4 separate regions of the Homo sapiens genome follow, and all the other regions are linked to region 2. Evidence: promoter capture Hi-C in 16 types of primary human blood cells and fetal thymus (Javierre and others, 2016). All regions are on one chromosome and are shown on one strand. Each heading gives the region's core, a stretch centred on a gene start or on the middle of the fragment in contact. The rest is flanking DNA. Distances are from core to core; before and after follow the strand shown. Region 1 overlaps LINC02235 (long intergenic non-protein coding RNA 2235). Region 2 holds the start of ZC2HC1A (zinc finger C2HC-type containing 1A). Region 3 overlaps SNX16 (sorting nexin 16). Region 4 holds the start of ZFAND1 (zinc finger AN1-type containing 1).

Region 1 (4,537 bases), core at 184-2,683, 3.2 Mb after region 2:
TAGTTCTGATGTCTCACTTCTTTCATTTTCCATGTTGAAAGACTGGATCAACCAGACAGATTGGAAGGTGTTGATCAGTTGAAGCATGTTTCTGGAGAGGAGACGAGGAATATAGTTGGGTAGAAGAGTGTCCCAGGCAGAAATGTGTAAATGATATTATATAGAAGTTGCTTAATAATGAGACAATATTGTTTGAATTGAATTAAAGACTTGCAGGCATAAAACTGGAATTTTTGCATGGTTATAATAATGGCCTTAGTTCTATGAGGAGCCAGATCTTAATACTTATTCAACAAATATTTCTCGAGTGTCTACCGTATGTGCCAGTTATTGTTCTAAGACTGCAGGAATTTACTAGTAACAAGATATGCAAGTTCACTGTTCTCATGAGGTCCATATTCTGGTGGACTCTGGTGAAGGCTTATGCAGGAGCAGTCATAAACATAATAACTAAGTTTTAAGAATTTATATTCATATTCTTTGCAGAAAATAAAATAGAGTAATGTAAGAGTTGCTTAGGTGGGGGAAGTGAAGCAATTATAGATTGGGGTATCAAATCAAGTTTTTCTGAGAATGTGTCATGACTGCTGAAATTTTAGTGTCTACAAGAAAACAACCTTGCAAAAATCTGGTGGCTGAGCTTCCAGGAAAACTGCCTCACAAGAAAAAGGGAAACTTGTTATCAAAAGTGCTCCCTTTTCCTTCTTGTAAGAGCTCCAATTCCAGGAAGTAAGTGCTAGATGTTTCTCTAATCACATATGTGATCCATATGTCCCTGAGACATTAGATTTCTAAATTTAATACCCAATTCCTCCTCATTTCAAACCCTGACTTCCTTGTTAAGGAATTCAGGCACTTGTAGATTTTTCTTTTCCTGAATATTCTTGGCATCCCTAAAAGGCATATTCAATGCTTTAGGGAATCTGTTCTGGTTGTTGTTCCCTGTCACTGTTGCTGGATGAGGTGCTGTCATTGCCTTTGCCGCTGGCTGAGTCACTGCTTGCCTTGACAGTTCTGCACTAGCCTTTGCCCTAAAAGAGATTAGTCATGCAGTGTCTCTTGAGTTAAATTCTGACACTATGGATGCAAGCTAGAGAGCTGTCGGTAATACTACCTACCTCCACTAAGCTGGAGACTCAGTACAAGTCAACTGAAATGGAGAAGCTTCTTTAATTTTTACATGAATCTGAAAGTATTACAGAGTTTAGTGAGCCAGTTCTTTCAGTTTTGTTCACAATCCTCTTCTCCTCAGGGAGCACCATACTGCGTGGGTGGCTGAGTTGGCAGAAGCTTCTGTAACAACTGTCTAATGGACCTTACTGGCAGCCAACTCTCTGAATCCTTTTTTGTGTCTAGGGAATCCTTGCCCTCTGTATTTTGGTAAGAGGTCAGAGCCCACTTCCAACTATAAAATTGTAAATTGTTAACATACTTGCTTTCTCAGCCTCCTTTGAAACTAATGTATAGATACATGCCCTAGGCATGCTAATCAAATGAACCTGATTGGTGTCTGAAGTATAGGATCTAATGTTCAGTGGTAACAGCATCCTCACAAGACTAGTTTTGTGGTTTAGTTTGAAGCTTTGTTTCTGGCTGCATTGTCCCCAAGCTTTCTAGAATTTCTATGAGCTAGTCAATATCCTTAATATCTTCCTTAAATTGGACACAGCAACTTTTGGCTGCTTGTTACATAAGCATGTGAAGAAAAGGGCCAAGAAAAAGGCTAAGAGAAGAGAAGTACTTATTTCTTGTGCGTGGGGGAAAATATTCTCCTCTTCTCTTCAATTGCATATGAACAAAAAAAGCACAGAGTCCTGACTGCCTTTGGCAGTCATCTTGCAATTGCAAGGGAATCTCTTCCGAATGAAGCCAATAGGAGGACAGCAGAATGAAGAATGATAAAGCATTTAGATAATATCATTGAGCCTTTGATTGTACTGTACCCAGAGTCTACTCTGCTTTTGAATTTGAAATTACATGAGATAATATGTTTTCTATTGATAAGCAAGCTTAAGTTAGGATTTTCTGCTGTAACTATCTATACTACGATAGATACAATAGATACAAATAATAATGGCTAACCTTTATTGAGAATTTAAAATTTTGCAGGAACCTTTAATTTTTTGACAAATATCAGTTGAGCATCTACATATATTTACTTGTTTAACTGTTATAATAATTCTAATGTTACAACAATGCAGTATAGTCATGTGTCTCATAACAATGTTTTGATCATGATGAACTGCATATCTGATGGTGGTACCATAACATCATATTGGAGCTGAAAAATTTCTATCACCTACAGATGTTGTAGCCATTGTAATGTCATAGCACAACACATTACCTTTTCTATATTTAGAGATGTTTATATATACAGACACCATAGTGTTACAATTACCTATAGTATTTAGTACAGTGACCTGCTGTATAGGTTTGTAGCACAGGAGCAATAGGCTGTACCATCTAGCCTAGATGTGTAATAAGCCTAGGTGTGGCAGAAGCTCATGTAACAACTCTCTAATGGACCCTATTGGTAGCCAACTCTCTGAATCTTTTGCTGTGCCTGGGGAATTTCTGCCCTATGTATCTTGGTAAGAGGTCAGAGCACACTTCCCAATATAAAATTGTAAATTTTAATATACTTGCTTTCTCAGCCTCCTTGCTATTTAGGTTTGTGTAAGTACACTCTATGTTTGCACAATGACAAAATCACCTAATGATGCATTTATCAGAATGTATACCTGCTGTTAAGTGATGCATAACTGTATTAAGTATGCAGCTGGATGTATATATTTATACATAGACATGTGCATAAATATGGATATATATGTGTATAAATATAGATATAAGCATGTATATGGATATTCATATAGGCATAGGTATGGCTATGGCTGTAAGTATAGATAAAGGTATAAACATAGAGATAAAGATTATGCACCTAGGTGACAAATGAGATTTCTATGTTGTCCTGAAATAGCTAAAATCCAAAGCTGAAGATACAAGTTGCTAAGTGTCCCCATGTCCTAAGAGTATAGCGCACAAGTAGTTAAAGCTACAATATTTTCCAAAATTCTTATCGAGGAGTGCCAGTTCAGAGAACTGGCCCAATCACCAACATCACCCAGGTACTGTTAGAGGAGGTCTTAAGATAGGATGGTGTGCCCTTTTGGAGAATGCAGTGTTTATGAAGTGTGGCTGTTTCTTTCCCATCACAGCAGTTAACAGTTTAAACAACATTTATTTTTTCAACCTCATAATCAGGATAGCCTACTACTCAATAGAAGATATTGCCCTGTACCCTGCGTCTCTCACTCAGCCCATTTCATCTTTTAATACCACATCCTGAATTAGGTAGTATGCTTTGGGGGTATAAATAATAGAAACTATAGCTTAAACTTGCTGAAAAATTAGTAAGAAAATTTTTGGTTTAATTCTCAGAAAAATCTAGAAATAGGACAGATTTCAGGTTTGGATGATTGCGAGACTTTCTGTTCTCCTTTCTGTGGTGTTAGGTTAATTAGCCTCATGGATGTAGAATGGCTGCTAGTAGTAATCAAGCTTATGTGTTTCTCTGGTTAGTCCAGTGAGAAAGAACTTTTGTCTAAATATGCCAACCAAGAGCCCTGAGATTCATACTGACTAAACTGTTTAAGTCACATGCCCAACAATGTACCAGTGACTTTGGTCAGGGGAATAGAACATGTTTGCTGTCTTAGGTCAACCAAGGTCTACCCCTGAGGTCTGAGAATCTGAATCAGCTTTACATAAAATATGTAGGTTACATGGGCACGAATATGGATATCCAAATTAAAACCTGAAAGCTGTTAGGAAGGGAGAATAGAACATGAATGTTGAAAAACAATCAATAATGTTTCCTCCAAGGAAAGTTAATGACCTAATGAGAGGCGATCAATAGTGAGGATCTATGTAAACCCTAGGTAAGAGGCAGAAAAATTCGGTATCCCAAATAATAGGTAACAGATGTGCAGCTTTTAGAGAAAGGTTGGGATAGCTTTGAATAATTCTTTCTCAATTAAGATCTTCTTACCCTTTCACTGGCATCTGTATTCATTTGTGGAAAGTCAGGTTAGGTGGTATCTAGAACAGGTGGAGGAAGGCTATTCCTTATAGTGATCCATTGGTAGAAGCACTGACTTTATTGTAGCTGCTTAGTGATGAGGAGCATCTGCCCACTGACAACAGTCCAGCTGGAGAAATGGTAATGTTGGCCCCTGCCTCCAGTTTTCTCTTCCCTAGAAGAGAAGAGACACACTCCGTGGAACAGAAAAGGAAGGAGCACACCACCTAGGCTTATTTCCAAAAGCTGGTTGAATGTTTCTATCTGAATGTTCCATCAGTACTTTAAAGTAATCATGTCTTTAGTGCCGCCTCCTCTCTACCTAGCTATTCCTTCTCCTCTCCACTTTGGTGATGATATCGCTGCCTACCAGGCCACCCAAAGCCAAAAACTTGGGAATTGTCCTAGATTTCCCTAACTGTATTACTTCCCCTTGTCAGAAGCAATCCCTGTCGATTG
Region 2 (5,110 bases), core at 80-2,579:
GCAGCACCCAGTCTAGAGTAGCTTATTGCCTGCAAGGCTATGGGTTGGCCAAGGAGGCCCAGGATCTCAGAGAAGCAGAAGAGCCAGGGGAACCAGGGAAGGGCGGAGGGAGTCATTGAGGCATGGTTGAAGTGGTCTTTACATGGCTCCACACAACAGATGGACTCTACCACATTCAAATGCACTTGGAGCACCTTCTCAGTAAGAGATGATGCCCCCTCAAGTGTTTGCTTGTTTAAACATACCTTCATGTGAGTGGAGAGTAGGAGGAATCCTGCTTCCTGAAGGTAACTGATTTCATAGTAGATGAAGTTAGATATGAAGTTAAACTCTTCAATTAAACAGATTAACAATAACATTAATCCGAGGTTTGTTATGGACAACACATTAATACTGGTAACTTGCCAGTAGATACGCTATAGTCAGCAAACAGTACAGCTTGTTTACGATTGCTAAATCAAATTTTCAAAGAAATGTAGTTCTGGTAATTGTAAGCAAAACCGTTAAAATGGTCTGAGTTAGTTTTGAAGTTACTTTCATCTTCAGGAGGTTTTGAACTCTGTTAGAGACGGGCGGGCCTCATTCTGTCAGGTTGTAGGTTAATTCCCCAACTCAAACTTCCCCGATCAAACATTGTCAGGCCAGGCGACTGTTTTGGTTTATGGATGATAAAGTATAGGGCCAAGGTAGGCCAAGAGTAGAAGACAGAGGGAGGGCTGGGTTTCACTTCTAATTTTTGGCCCAAGCTTTCATGGTGAGGAAACTGTTTTCAAGGGCTTAGAGCAATCGCAGTTCCACAATCGCAGATAGAAAGTATGATTTCTCTGGAAAAAAAGTGTCTTAACCTATGAAGCTGTGTGTGAAGATCAAGTGTAGGGGATACGCTGAGGTCAAGTCATGCGACCAAAGACCGGAAAACGGAGATTGCTGCATGCAAGCGTGCTGGGCGTTTGTTTGGTTTGCTTGCCTGCTTAAAGTATCCACTGGGAGGGATGGCGGCTAGAAGTCAGAGGCATTGACTGATTGAGGAACTGGTGAAGCGGAGCCCATGAGGTGCTGAGGTACTCTAAATAGGAGGATAAGGTATGAGGCAAAACAAGGCTGGAGTCAAACAAAGGCGCCGTTGCATCGCAGATTGCAACCTGAAGCGGCTCCCGGCTCCCTGGAGAGTAACCCGGAGAGACGGACAGGGGTGGCAGCCAGGAGGAGACCGCAGGAACCTCGCCTCCGCCGCGGCCCCGCCCCCACGGATCCCCGCCCCCGCAGTTGCGGAACCAATGGGAGCTCGGAATGTTAGCGGGTGGGAGGTGCGGCTGGGTTGCTACAGCCAGAGCTGGGCGGTGGCGGGCGCTGCTGAAGGAGTCTCGCTGAGCTCGAGGAGGTGGCGCGATGGAGGGACTGGAAGGTGAGGCGATGAAGGGATGAGGGCAGGACGGCTAGAGCGGGCCCGAAACAGCTGGGGACCCTGGACACCAGTAGCAGGAAGGCGAGGGCTGGTTCGGTGCGGCGGACCTCGCCGCGTCCCGCCGCGCCTCCGGAGGCTGGGGCCGAAGGGAACCGGACAGTCCCCGATGCGGTGGAGCTAACGCTACCAGGCTGCCCCGCCTCAGACGGTCTTCAACTGGGCTTTCCCGCCCGGAGCCAGATCCTGCCCCTGGCAAGACGCCTGCACGTCTCTTCCTACCATTTTCTGATCTTGCTTGACTCCTGAGTGCCCTTTTAGTGATCCCAGTCTCTGGCCAGATTTTGTTTTCCTTGTACTGGACTCTCTCCATTATTGTCCACGGCCTTAACACCAACAGGCCACTTTGTGCTGCAGCCCCGGGGTGTGTCTCCAGCCTCGAGCTCCTGACATTCCTTGGCCGATTTCCCTAGGTAACCGGCTTTTTACATTTCGACAGCATCTTCTGTCGGAGGGATGTCAGAGCATCTCCTAAGGAAGTGTCACTGGCCAGCTTTAGAGCCGGTACAATAGATTACCCGGAGGATTTGATGACTTATTCACGGCCGCTGTGTGAGGAAGAGCCTGTATTGGTTCCTTATCTTTGGGTTTATCTTTGTACTGTAACCATGACTCCAGATTTTGCTTTGTTCCCAGTTCTTTCACTTTTTCTCTATTCTGTTTACCCATTTTATCCTGTGTAATGAAAGCATTCACCTAAAAACAAAGGAAGGACAAAAACCACAATAACTAGCATTGGCAACAACAGTTTCAAGATTTTTTAATTTGTTATGATGAAGAACAAACCTTCAGAATTGAAAGATCCTATTGTCTTGATTTAGCTCCTTTCCCCCGTCTCCTAGTTTACACGGATTCAGTTGGAATTAAGAATGAGCAGAAGCTTTTGAGTCTTGTGTATTGTTGCATGCCAGGGAGTAAAATATTCTACATTGTGTGATGAAGTGCAAAGTGGTAGCCGGTAACTTTTTCAGTCACCTATTCACCAAAAAGCAGATGTAATAACATGAGTAGAAGTTTATTTCGTGCTTTTGCTCTGATAAATGATTCTGATAATTTTCCGTTTGTGGACAGCTGCAGTATGCTATGGCCTAATGAAGGTCTTGTTTTTTGCTTATGTGTTTTTGGAAGATAATTCAAGTTTCCATGAAATAAGGAATTGTAATGATAGTACAGTATATTTTACTTTCAAGATACTTTTGTATCTTGGTGGGATTAAAGCATGGGTTATGGAATTCTCATGAGATTATCATATATAATATGATAAGGTTTTATTACATATTATCTATAAAGTGTTTTGAACAGTTTGCAGATTTTTATTATTTTATTCAACATTTGTTATTAAGACAAAGATCATCATCTGATTTTTCACTTATGTATCCTAGGCACCTAAAACAATGTCTGACACAAAGTAGGTACTCAATAAATATTTGTTGTTAAATAAATGTCTATTATGGGCATCTTTTTAGGTTCTAGGTTGCAGCAAAGAATAAAAATGATAAAGCTTTACTCTCATCGAACCTACATTTTAGTGGACCTTACATTTTAACAGTGCTAAGATATTACTATTGAAACCTTACTACGAATGTTTTTAAAATATAATGGAAACCTATTATGACACTCAGTTGCATAGGTGGACAAAGGTAGGATTCTGTATTTATAGGCATATTTTATGGGTCCAGCTTATGATGTTATAGGGCCCAGCTTATGATGTTAATAGTGCTTGCCCTTTACTTTTAGATTTTTTTTTTTTACAAAATAAGATGCTATCATTAACTATAATGTGTTTAATTGTGATAAACTGAGTTGAAATATGTGAAGTTGCCCTAAATTATGTAGGGCAAAACAGTTGAATTCTGGTAATTTCAAGCAGTTCAATCTAATAAAAGCTCTTGAGAATTTTCTGTTGAAGTTAGGATGGTGCCTTTCTCTCCTTCCTCCTTCTCCCCTCTCCCTCCCCTAAGAGATCACACCTTGCAAATATCAAACTCTGAGTCTTAAGGTTACCGTTCATTAATTCATCCATTCTTTCATTCTAGAAACATTGATACAGTGATAGATTAGGTAGTTTCTTACCTCTATTGGAAGTTAAAGTCTAGTACTTTGAAGGTGTTTAATAAATATTATATTGCAGTATCCAGTAAGAAATATTCAAAAGTTTGCTTAATGTGTCAGAGTAATTGCGTAAATATTGTACTCTGGCATTAGACATATGTTTCTAGTTGAAACCAGTTACCAGACATTAATCTTGGCTATAAAACAAGAAAATATATGGACTCTTGAAAATTTCTATTAAAGATAATCTTACTCTTTCTTATAACTTACGTTATTTGCATGTAATCATATACCATTTGTTTTACTTTTGGTCTTCAGGGTCTTTATGCTTCTTGAATAGTCAATAGATGAGGTATTAGGCTCAAACACTATACTTTGAAATGAAATATAAGTTATCTGTTTTTGTAGAATCAATATCTGAGCACTTCTACATTCTGTAGATAGTTATAGCAAAACCTTTTAATTCCTTTTCATCTAATAAAATTTGTGCCCCACAAAATCTATCTAAGGATAATAGAAGTAGTTCTAGACTTGAGAGAGTTCCAATCTCTTATAAGCTTTTTTTATTTGTAAAATGGAGAGATGGTAAAATCTAAGCAGATTTTATCCTTATATACAGTATTGTCATTCCCTTCATATCCCTGATAAATGGTTATAAAAATTGTGGCAGAGATCAGACTGTCCGTTCCTCTTGTGGATTGTTGAAATTATTAGATCTTAGTACTGCCCTCTAAAACTTGATTAGAAGACTGATTGCTCTTCAGTGTAGCCCTTGGTTTAAAGATAGTCGTGTCTCATCAAAATTTCTGTTTTGTTTTATTTTTTCGTAGTATAAATGTATACTAGTTTACTGTATAATTCTTTATCTTTATTAATTTATCTAGCATTTACTGCTTTTTGGTAGTGAGTTGGATGCCAGATATTTTAATAGACAGTATATTGGAGAGGACTGTGTTTGAATCCTTGCTTTGTTTCTTTTTAGCTCTATGATTTGGGCAGTTTACTTAATCTGAACCCTTATTTTCCCTGCTATGAAAAAAATGGAGCTATTAAATATGTAACTACCTAAATTATATTAAGTATTAAATAATGTAATATATGTAAAACATTTAGCTAAGTACCTAGTGCATAGGAGGCCCTCTCAGTGTGTGTTTGTTAGATGGCGAAAATCACAAAAAGCATGTTAGCAGGTCCAGTATAGGTAAAACATAGCATGCTTGGGAGGAGCGAAGGAAACATTGAAGCCAAGAGAGAAAGGACTTTAAAGGTGAAAGAGATTTGTCAGCAGTGGCTCAGACTGTAGAAAGGCCCAGTAGGATGGGGATTCAAAAGAGAGCTTCAGATTTGACAATTAGTAAATAGTAATCCGTTACCTTCCTTTTTAATGTCATTATTGTGTCCTTATTAAACAAACTTTCCCTGATTATCCATACTTCTCCAAGACAGCATTATGACCATCTCTTCTCCCCTTACTTTGTTCTACCTTCATTGTGGTTATCACCATGTAACATTTTATATATTAGTTTTTATTCATTTTTTCCCTGTTAGATCAGTGAAAGCTCTATAAGATCAGAGTATTTGTTTTTTATCATCCTT
Region 3 (5,095 bases), core at 2,442-4,941, 3.2 Mb after region 2:
GCCATATCTTCCCATTGTTTAGGCCAAAACTTTTGAAGTCACCTTTGACCTCTCTTTCTCCCACACTCCACTTCCAAATCATTAGGAAATATTGCCGGTTCTACTTTTAAAACAAATCCAGAACCTGATCACTTCTCAGGACTTCCTCCACCACCCCAGTCCACACTACCATCATGTTTCCCTTGGATTACTAAAAGAACCTACTAACTGCTTCCTGCTTTGACTGTCCCCCATCTCGACCAAACCAGTCTCAATTCAGTAGCCAGAATGAACTTTTTAAAACATTGTCAGATCACATGACTCTTCTTTTAAAAACCTTTTAAAAGATTCTCATCTCATGCAGAGTAAAATCCAAAGTCTTCACAGTGCCTCCTTCCCTATGTGATCTGTGTGCCACACTTCCCTGCCTGTCATCTCATTCCCTACACCTCCCACAGCTTACTCTGCTGTCAGCCACAAGGATCTTTGTAGTTGTCCCATCTGTGTTGAAAACACATTCTCATGGCTCATTCCCTGTTAGCACTAACATCTTTTTGTGAGGCCATGACTGATAGTGCTATTTAAATCCCAACCCCAGATTTGGGGAAACTCCCTGTCTTCCTTCTCTGTTTTATTTCTCTCTATAGTGCTTATCACCATGTGACATATCAGGCGTCTTATTATTTACTTACTTATCATGCTTTCATTCAAATTGCTGTACCACTATTACCCAGAACAGTGCCTGAGGCATAATAGGTAATTAAAAAAATGTTGAGTTAATAAATAAATGAATATGACTAATTTCATATCTGTCATTTACTTCCTCCTCTCCAGTCTCTTGAAATGCTTTACATAACACCACCTTGTATTTGGCCAAATACTTGCATCTTCACACATATCATCTGTCTTAGTCTGTTAGGTCTGTTATAACAAAATACCATAAATTTGGTAGCTTGTAAACAAAGAAATTTATTTCTCAAAGTTCTAAAGTCTGAGAAGTCCAAGATCAAGACAGTAACAGATTTGGTATCTGGAGAGGGCCTACTTTCTGGTTTATAGATGGTGCCTTATAGCTATGTCCTCAGATGTGTAAAGGACAAAAAGCTCTCTGGGGCCTCTTTTTAAGGGTCCTAATCCTATTTATGGGGGCTCTGCTCCCATGACCTACTGGCTTCCAAAAGCTCCATCTCTTAATACCATCACCTTGAAGGTTAGGTTTCAACATATGAATTTTGAAGGAACGCACATTCAGACCATAGTATCAACTCAATAAATGCCTATTTCTTAATTCAGGAAATTGGCCATCAGTTTATATTTTCTAAAAATTTTCTAAAAAGAGAGAGAGAGACAGAGTTCCCTGAAGATTTCCTATATCACAGTCTTATGATAATTTTAAAGACTGCCTCTTCATAAATTATCTCAACAATTTTTCCTTGGAGGTCCTCCCATCCTGTCATAAATTTACAGCATGAAACATTGAAGTAAACATTAAACTTTACTAAAAGAACAAAGTCTTACCAAAAAAGTAAACCTTTTGAGTTAATAAGAGAGTTGAGCAAGGTTGCTGGATATGTAAACATAAAAGGACAAATTATATAAAATAGCAGTAAATAGAAAACAAAAATAGATGTCTCTCACAAGAACATCAAACAACATCCATATCCTGAAATAAATCTAACCAACAGATGTAAGAACCCTGCACCAAAAACAACAAAACATTACTAGAAAAAAATGACTTAAGTAAATGGATTAGGTTCATAGATTTGAAAACTCAGTAAAGATGTCAGTTCTCCCCAGATTAATCTATAGATCTAACAAAATCTCAATGCAAAGGGTGAAGAATAGCCAAGGCCATCCTGAAGAAAAAAGCTAAAGTACATACACTGCTACATATCAAGACCTATTATAAGACTTTATTAATTAAGACAGTGTGAAATTAGTAAAGGATGAAAAAATAGAACACAGAAGCAGACCCATGCATTTATGGTCACATGATTTATGACACAGACAACACTGAAAATGAAGAGGAGAGAGAGTGGTCTTTCAAATAAAAGCCTGATTAATTGGTCCCATCTGGAAAAAAAAAAAAAAAAAGACTTGACCCTCACCTCACACCATGGACAAAAATCAATTCTGGTGGTTTACGAATCTAAATGTGAAAGGTCCAACAATAAAGATTTTAGAAGAAAACATAGGACAGTATCTTTGTAGCCTTGGAGTAGGCAAAGATTTCAAAAAGTGCTAGCCATTAAAAAAAGTAATAAATCAAGCCAAATTAAAATTAAGAACTTTTGTTTATCAAATGTATTATTAAGGAATTGAAAAGGCAAACCACAGAGTGAGAGGATAGTCATAATACATGTATCTGAAAAAAAAATTATATCCAAAGTGCACAGAAAACTACAAATCAAAAGGGAGACTTCCCAAAAGAAAAATGAACAAAAATCATGCACAGATATTTCACAAGAGAATATCCAAACAGCCCAAAAAAATTTTAAATTCAATTAGTCATTAAGAAAATTCAAATTAAAACCACAACCAATGTGATATTACTCTGTACCCATGAGAACAGCTGAAATGATAAAAATGTTAAAATATCACATGTTAGGAAGCTATGGATCAACTGGAACTCTTATATGCTGCTTTTAGGAGTATAAATCAGTACAACCATTCTGAAACACTGTTCACCAATATCTTTTAAAGCTGGGCATGTAATTTGGCAAGGCTAAAGAAAAGAGACCAGATGCAAAAAGAGTATATAATTCCATTTAGATAAAGTACAAAAATAGGCAAAATTAATCTAGGCTATACAAAAGTATTGGGTGAATGGGTCCTGACTGGCAGAGAACCTAGAGCATTTAAGATTCTAGTAACGTTCTTTTCCTTGATTTATGTGCTATTAATAGTTACATAGGTGTGTCTGGTTTGTGAAAATTTATTAAGGTAAAGCAAAAGTTTACTACAACATGATAGAATTCAGTGGTGTAAAAACCATTAGAATTTCATATTCAAGAAATTATAAGTACAAGTTTACATTAATTTAACACTGGTTTGAACACAGAGATTAGCCAATCTTTCACTTTGTAGTGTTATACAGCAGAAGTCAATACTTACAGTAAATTTAGCTCTTTCTTCCATCACTTCATAACCCAGTATAGTAGGTGTAGATGGTCTATCTTCCCAATTCACTGTTTCCGGATTTTGTTCTTCAGTGTCTCTTGGTCTAGTAGAATACTCAATGGAAGAAGCTGTACCTGTAAATTTAGTCCTAATGAGGGGACTGCTACAGACAGATGAAGTATTATCCATTTGATCAGGAACACTTGTCTGTTTAAAATTACCCATATTTGAGTCTTCTAACTGGCCCTTAGAAGAATTTGAGCTTGTTGAGACACTGCCAAAAGAAGAACTTCTTTGATTTCTGTTTGTTGTAAAACTGGAAGCAGAGTTTCCTATGGGCATAGGAACTGGGACATAAGGAGTTGCCATCTTCTTTTGGCTTTTCCAACAAGCTTGCACACTGTTGAGTCCACTTAGAGAACAACTAATATGCAATCCATTATTTTCTTCTTAGGAATTCACTATCTAAAAATGAAAAGGACATATTAAAAGGTTAGTCTTTAATGTGCAGCAGGATTCAAAAGAAAAGTATTCTTTTCAATTTTATGACACTATTATTTTATTTGGAATGAAAACATACCTCAAACCCCTTCTCCCAGTTGTCTTTAAGGACTCCTATTTGCAAGATAGAGAGAGCAAAACTACTTCACACTCTTTTTCCTTGACTCCATGTTACATGTTATCCCTTTTTCCTCTACTTTATTCCCTTGTGAAGTATTTCTGTAAAGTTCATTTTAACCTGATTTCATGTATGTAAAAGTTGGTAGGAGAAAGATTGGTAAAGACCCTTCTGAAGCTTTATTCCATGCTTATCATCTTGACAGTACTACATTCAGTACAAGAGAGAAAAAAGAAAAGGAAGAAAACTATTTACATTACCTCTGGATTTAATCAGAAAGGGAGGAAATCTATTCACATTACCTTTCAATTTAATTAGTGAAACTATAAAGATTTACACAGAGTAGTAACAATGAACCAGATGCTTTGATGCTACATAGTATAATTCTATAGAACCCAGGATTAAAAATACACACTTGGTCAAGTTACTCAAATAAAACCCAGTGAACACTGAACTTATATGCAACAAAATTAAATAGTGAAAATTGTAACCGTTCTTCACAGCTTACAGGTCATCACTAATTCTGCTCTACGATAAACTGAGGGTATTTAAATCTTTATAACTTACACTCAAGAATCTGTTATCAAACGGACCAGTATATCTTGTGTCAGAATAGTATCATAACACAAAGAAGAAATGGTTTACTATTACTTTGTTAAATAATAAACTCATAAGAAACTGTAACAACTACAGACCAACAAAATGACAAGACTACACACAACAATAACTGCCCAACTTTTCATACGAAACTCTACTGGTGGGAAAGGTAAGAAATGAGTCACCTGGACTTGGAAAGATGCTGAAATAAGATTTTTAACTCTGGGCTGGGCGCTGTGGCTCACGCCTGTAATCCCAGCACTTTGGGAGGATGAAGCGGGTGGATCGCCTGAGGTCAGGAGTTCGAGGCTAGCCTGGCCAACATGGTGAAACCCCGTCTCTACTAAAAATACAAAAATTAGCCGGGCATGGTGGCGCAGGCCTATAATCCCAGCTACTTGGGAGGCTGAGGCAGGAGAATCGCTTGAACCCGGGAGGCGGAGGTTGCAGTTTGCCGAGATCGTGCCATTGCACTCCAGCCTGGGCTACAAGAGGAAAACTCCGTCTCAAAAAAAAAAAAAAAAAAGATTTTTAACTCAAGTGGCTCTCGGCAACATTTCCCCATTATCAAAGATTCATGAAACTTTAGCTGCTGATTCACCGCTCCTCGGTTCCGCCTGACGGCCTCCCCAAAAACAAGTAAGTCTGAAATCTCAACCTTCTCAAGGTCCGAGGGATCTACCTGGCCTTTGCCACTCTACTACCTGAGGCCGCCTGGCTGGGGGGAGGTCGCATATCAATACATATCAACACAACCACTGACGTCCGAAGATGTGAGCG
Region 4 (4,572 bases), core at 1,539-4,038, 3.1 Mb after region 2:
ACAACCTCTATGGAAAAACTTCCCATTTTGACTAATATCCTAGTGTAGCAAGCACTATGTAACCACTCTAACAAAATTAATCACAACTTCAATAACTGACAGAAAGTAATTGGATTAACATAAGGTATTAATAGATGTTACTTGTAACTTTACTAAGTCAGACAAAAATAAGTTCTAGTGGTTTTCTTTTTCTTTTTTGTTTTGTTTCCCAGATTTACTAGGTGTTGTTTTTGATGACTGTATACTGCAAAAATTCCGCATTTGGAGTGAAAAACCTGGGATTCAATTCTGATTCCACTGCTTACTAATCTAACAGTGCTAGGCAAGTTACTTAACAGTAAAACTTTGGATATATATATTTTTATATATATCCAATAAATATATATATTTATATCTGTGTACTAATATATATGTGTGTGAACAACATATATATATATATATCGCCAAAGCTTGACTATATTCAAATATATTTATATTTATATATACACCTATAAGATTTATGGTATTTCAAATATATATAATTTGATGTAATATATAGTACAGTTAGTATAAAGTATATGTGTGTGTGTTTCTATATATGTATGTAAATAAACATATACAAAACCAAAGCTCTTTTATTGGGTAAGAAAAATAGAAAGATATAGACAGGTAGATACAGAGACAGATATAAAGATACAAGCACATCCTTTCTGTGTATATATGTATATGTGTGTATGCATGTGTATCTATATCTGTATCTATGCTGTATGCCACACCGACCTCACAGTGTACTTACAGAAACCAAATGAGATATATATGAAAGATCAGAATAGTAATACAGTAACTATAATTAATAAGAATAATACAACAATTAACTTCTTTTGAGTATACTCAACTCAGAACAGTACTGCAAGGGGCCAGGCACAGTGGCTTAAGCCTGTAATCCCAGCACTTTGGGAGGCCGAGGGGGGCGGATCACCTGAGGTCAAGAGTTTGAAAACAGCCTGGCCAACATGGCGAAACCCCATCTCTACTGAAAACACACACACACACACACACACACACACACACACACACACACACAAATTAGCTGGGCGTGGTGGTTCATGCCTGTAATTCCAGCTACTCAAGAGGCTGAGGCAGGAGAATCGCTTGAATTCAGGAGGCAGAGGTTGCAGAGGGCCGAGATCGCGCCACTGCACTCCATCCTGGGTGACAGAGCCAGACTCCATCTCAAAACAAAACAAACAAACAAACAAAAAAGGACAATACTGCAGTGACTGGGTGGAGATGCTTAATATTTTGCGACTTTTAATAATCAAGTATTAGATGCAAACCAGAAGGACCCAGGGGAAAGAGTTAAGTCAAGACAACTTCCCAGCACCTGATACCATCCTTCAATCCCTCCAGAAGGTAGATAAAATTTAGGATATACACTTGACGTAGTCTAAATCTTAACTGCTTTCCACTAGTCCCAAACAGATAGGCCTGGCCTCATCTCAGTTATTGACACTAAAGACATATATAGCTGGAAAGGAAAATGAACTATGTCATGAATGGCATATAATGTGTATTGGACTCACTAGCGAAGGATCAGGCATAGACACACATAATTCACAGTCAAAACCCAAATGGCTAAGCTTCCACATGAAAAAAGTCACACTGGCTTGTTATTACAGCCAGTGGTGAAAGATAGATAGATAGATGGCTATAAGTAACAAGAACCTAGAAGGGATTGTGTCACCTGTCCTATCACGCATTCCCACAGTAGAAATCACTAATCAATTATGGAACTCCACTGAAACTGGGCTAAATCTCAAGAGTCTTTGACACGGTAATTCAGGCACTTGATACCAATGACTGAAGTTCCAAGGGGAGATTAAACCTGTTTGCTACCTTATGTAGTGTGTGAAACCTAGTAACAACGACTGAGCAGTCTGTGTGGTTCTAATGCTTCAAAAACTTGCCTTTTCAAGGTGTATGGCATCCTGAAGCCAATGCCACATCACCTTGGACTAGGTATATCCCAAGGTCTCTCAGTGCAATGGGGAGAGCCCATTGCCATATTATTAACTAATTCTCTCTAAAATGCAGCTTACTAGTTGGAAAGGTCTTCCGTGTAAAAGACTGTAGTTTACACCCTTATGTGGTCCAAGCACCAAAATCAATAATCTGTAAATGTTTGTTCAAACAATAATAATGAGAATCAGGGAATGACAGAGCTGGGAGAGCATGATGACCATTTGGTGGAATAATCTGAGGATCAGGATGCCTTTGAGAATTTGATAAAAGCTAAGGAAGGGCCTTCTTCCGGACACACATCCACGTGAACACTAGTTGGGCGAGTTGACCTCCCCCAACTCCTCCTGACAGCTACGTAACAGATAAGTAAAAAAAAGTATGGGAAAGTAGCTGGCCGTAGGTCGCAGTGGCAAAGCCAAAAGACAACAGTCCCAGACCAAACCTACGCGTCCCCATACCCGCGCTCAGCAGAGTAAGTGTGAGCCACGCGATCCAGCAGTGGGCTTCGTGCACTGCTCGGACACGGCACACTCGAACACCAAAATGAACACTGCAAGGTACGTTTTCAGGAATTGCATGGCTTCCTTCCAAGGAGACCACACGTCATTTCAAAAGCTCACGGCCAAAAAAAACCCGCACCAACCGATCTCACTGCAGCCCCAGAAGAAACGCTCCCACCCCGCTCCTCAGGCCCTGCCTCAGGAATTGCATGGCTTCCTTCCAAGGAGACCACACGTCATTTCAAAAGCTCACGGCCAAAAAAAACCCGCACCAACCGATCTCACTGCAGCCCCAGAAGAAACGCTCCCACCCCGCTCCTCAGGCCCTGCCCAGCCTTGTGGCCTCCCTTCACCCGCCGCCACCATCCGCGGAGCCAAAGCGGAGCCCTGGTCTCCCGCGGCCGGGGATGGGGGCTGGAAGCTCCCGGATCACCTCGCTGCCGGCAATGCTCCACCTGGCAGTGCTGCCCGATGTCCAACTCCGCCATCTCTCCGGCGCCGTAAGGGGCGGGGCAAAGCCTGAGGGGCGGGGCAATGAGCGCGCGCGGCGCCTGACGGGAGAGTGGCGGACCCAGAGGCGGAGTCTACAGGTGGGGGCGGGGCCTGGAAACCAGCTGTGCGATTTGTCCTAGGTGCATTCGCCGTGACCAGGAAAGGCCACTGTTCTGTGAGTGTTCTTCTCGGAGCGGAAGGCCTCTCGCCTAGTCCTTAAAGAAATACCCACCTGCAGCCGGGCGCGGTGGCTCACGCCTGTAATCCCAGCACCCTGTGAGGCCGAGGCGGGCGGATCACCTGAGGTCAGGAGTTCGAGACCAGCCTGACCAGTGTGGCGAAACCCCCGTCTCTACTAAAAATGCAAAATTAGCCGGGCGTGGTGGCACATGCCTGTAATCCCAGCTACTCGGGAGACTGAGGCAGGAGAAACGCTTGAACCTGGGAGGCGGAGGTCGCAGTGAGCCAAAATTGGACCATTGCACTCCAGCCTGGGCAAGAAGAGCGAAACTCCGTCTCAAAACATAAAAAAAGAAAATGAAAAAGAAATGCCCACCTGCCTTTCTGGACGACTGCTTACCGCGGTTCCCTGCATACGGCCACGAAAATCAGCAACGGCTTCACATTTATTTTTTTAAAAGTTAGTAGAACTCCAGGAACCAGAACAGTGCCGGGCACACAGTGTTGCAATAATCAAGCAAAAGAGACAGACATGGGTTATTCAATTCCTGAGCCATCCCTCAACCAGTGTTACTTGATTATGTAGTGTAACATACATGCCCCTTGCAAAACAGTCATCAGGCTTTTTAAAAAGTTAATATTTCTTTATCTTTGTCCTTTTTTTTTTTTTTTTTAAATTCTGGTAGGGGGAAAAAAAAAGTCTTAACTCCTGAGCCCCTGAATGTGTACTGAACCTTACAGAGTTCCTCAGAGAACCCAGACTCATTTAGCACAACTACCTGAAGAAAGCTTATGGGATTCCACTGGGATGTAGGGGAGTATCAGGTGCCTGGTGAGCCACTGCAAAGGTACTGAAGGAGAGGTACTTCTGGGTGGGGTACATATGAATGCCATTCCACCAACGTGATGCCAGGCACCATTCAGCGTGGATGGGTGACAATCACCTGCACTCCTGACAGGAACTAGAAAAGTATTCGATGCCTCCTATATACCTTTGGAGATTCCCAATCAATAATCACTGAGGAAGGGCGAAGGGTGACACTAGGAAAGGGGAATCATTTCTTCTGCATTTGCTCTTGAGCCAATCTATTTAAGATTTCCGTCTCAGAATTGCTTGAGTCTCTGGAGAAACTTTATAAGATGTCATCTGGCTATCCCAGCCTCCATAGCTTTTCTTTTATTAAGATGAGAAAACCAGTTCATAGACATTAAATGATTGGCTCACATTAGTGGATGAACCAGGACAAAAAATGCAAGTACTAAAGACTTTTGGTATTCTTGGATCTAGGGATCAGTGGCTTACCTAGATTTTATGTTTAAGTTGATCAGATCAATCAATAACAGGTTTCCTGGAATTTTACTAGGTGTTTGGAATGTTCTAGATAGGTGGCAAATATAT

The links. Contacts are between HindIII fragments. The CHiCAGO score rates a contact against its expected background, and 5 or more counts as called.
Region 1: a contact is called between a fragment that was not itself captured here and the fragment with the promoter of ZC2HC1A in region 2, in 1 of 17 cell types (M0 macrophages). The highest score is 5.2, in M0 macrophages.
Region 3: a contact is called between a fragment that was not itself captured here and the fragment with the promoter of ZC2HC1A in region 2, in 1 of 17 cell types (activated CD4 T cells). The highest score is 6.8, in activated CD4 T cells.
Region 4: a contact is called between a fragment that was not itself captured here and the fragment with the promoter of ZC2HC1A in region 2, in 1 of 17 cell types (naive B cells). The highest score is 6.0, in naive B cells.

What each region holds. Positions count from the first base shown.
Region 1 is chr8:81,857,939-81,862,475 of GRCh38, forward strand. All of the region lies in intron 5 of LINC02235 (long intergenic non-protein coding RNA 2235), which reads left to right. Among named protein-coding and RNA genes, the nearest start is that of LINC02235, 18 kb to the left of the region's middle. The HindIII fragment of the contact is 291 bases long and covers 1,289-1,579 here.
Region 2 is chr8:78,664,760-78,669,869 of GRCh38, forward strand. It overlaps ZC2HC1A (zinc finger C2HC-type containing 1A), which reads left to right and starts at 1,330. Exons shown (of 9, transcript NM_016010.3): 1 at 1,330-1,405. The coding sequence starts at 1,390. It overlaps LOC105375911 (a long non-coding RNA gene), which reads right to left and starts at 1,220. Exons shown (of 4, transcript XR_007060972.1): 1 at 246-1,220. RefSeq lists enhancers at 453-961, 962-1,469, 1,434-1,483 and a silencer at 1,144-1,363. The HindIII fragment of the contact is 1,596 bases long and covers 745-2,340 here.
Region 3 is chr8:81,836,519-81,841,613 of GRCh38, forward strand. SNX16 (sorting nexin 16) reads right to left here. Exons shown (of 8, transcript NM_152836.3): 2 at 3,094-3,564. The coding sequence starts at 3,468. Among named protein-coding and RNA genes, the nearest start is that of SNX16, 3.1 kb to the right of the region's middle. RefSeq lists an enhancer at 4,741-5,095. The HindIII fragment of the contact is 404 bases long and covers 3,490-3,893 here.
Region 4 is chr8:81,718,293-81,722,864 of GRCh38, forward strand. It overlaps ZFAND1 (zinc finger AN1-type containing 1), which reads right to left and starts at 3,008. Exons shown (of 8, transcript NM_024699.3): 1 at 2,935-3,008. The coding sequence starts at 2,989. RefSeq lists enhancers at 2,042-2,986, 2,914-2,963 and silencers at 2,504-2,643, 2,674-2,743. The HindIII fragment of the contact is 2,343 bases long and covers 1,618-3,960 here.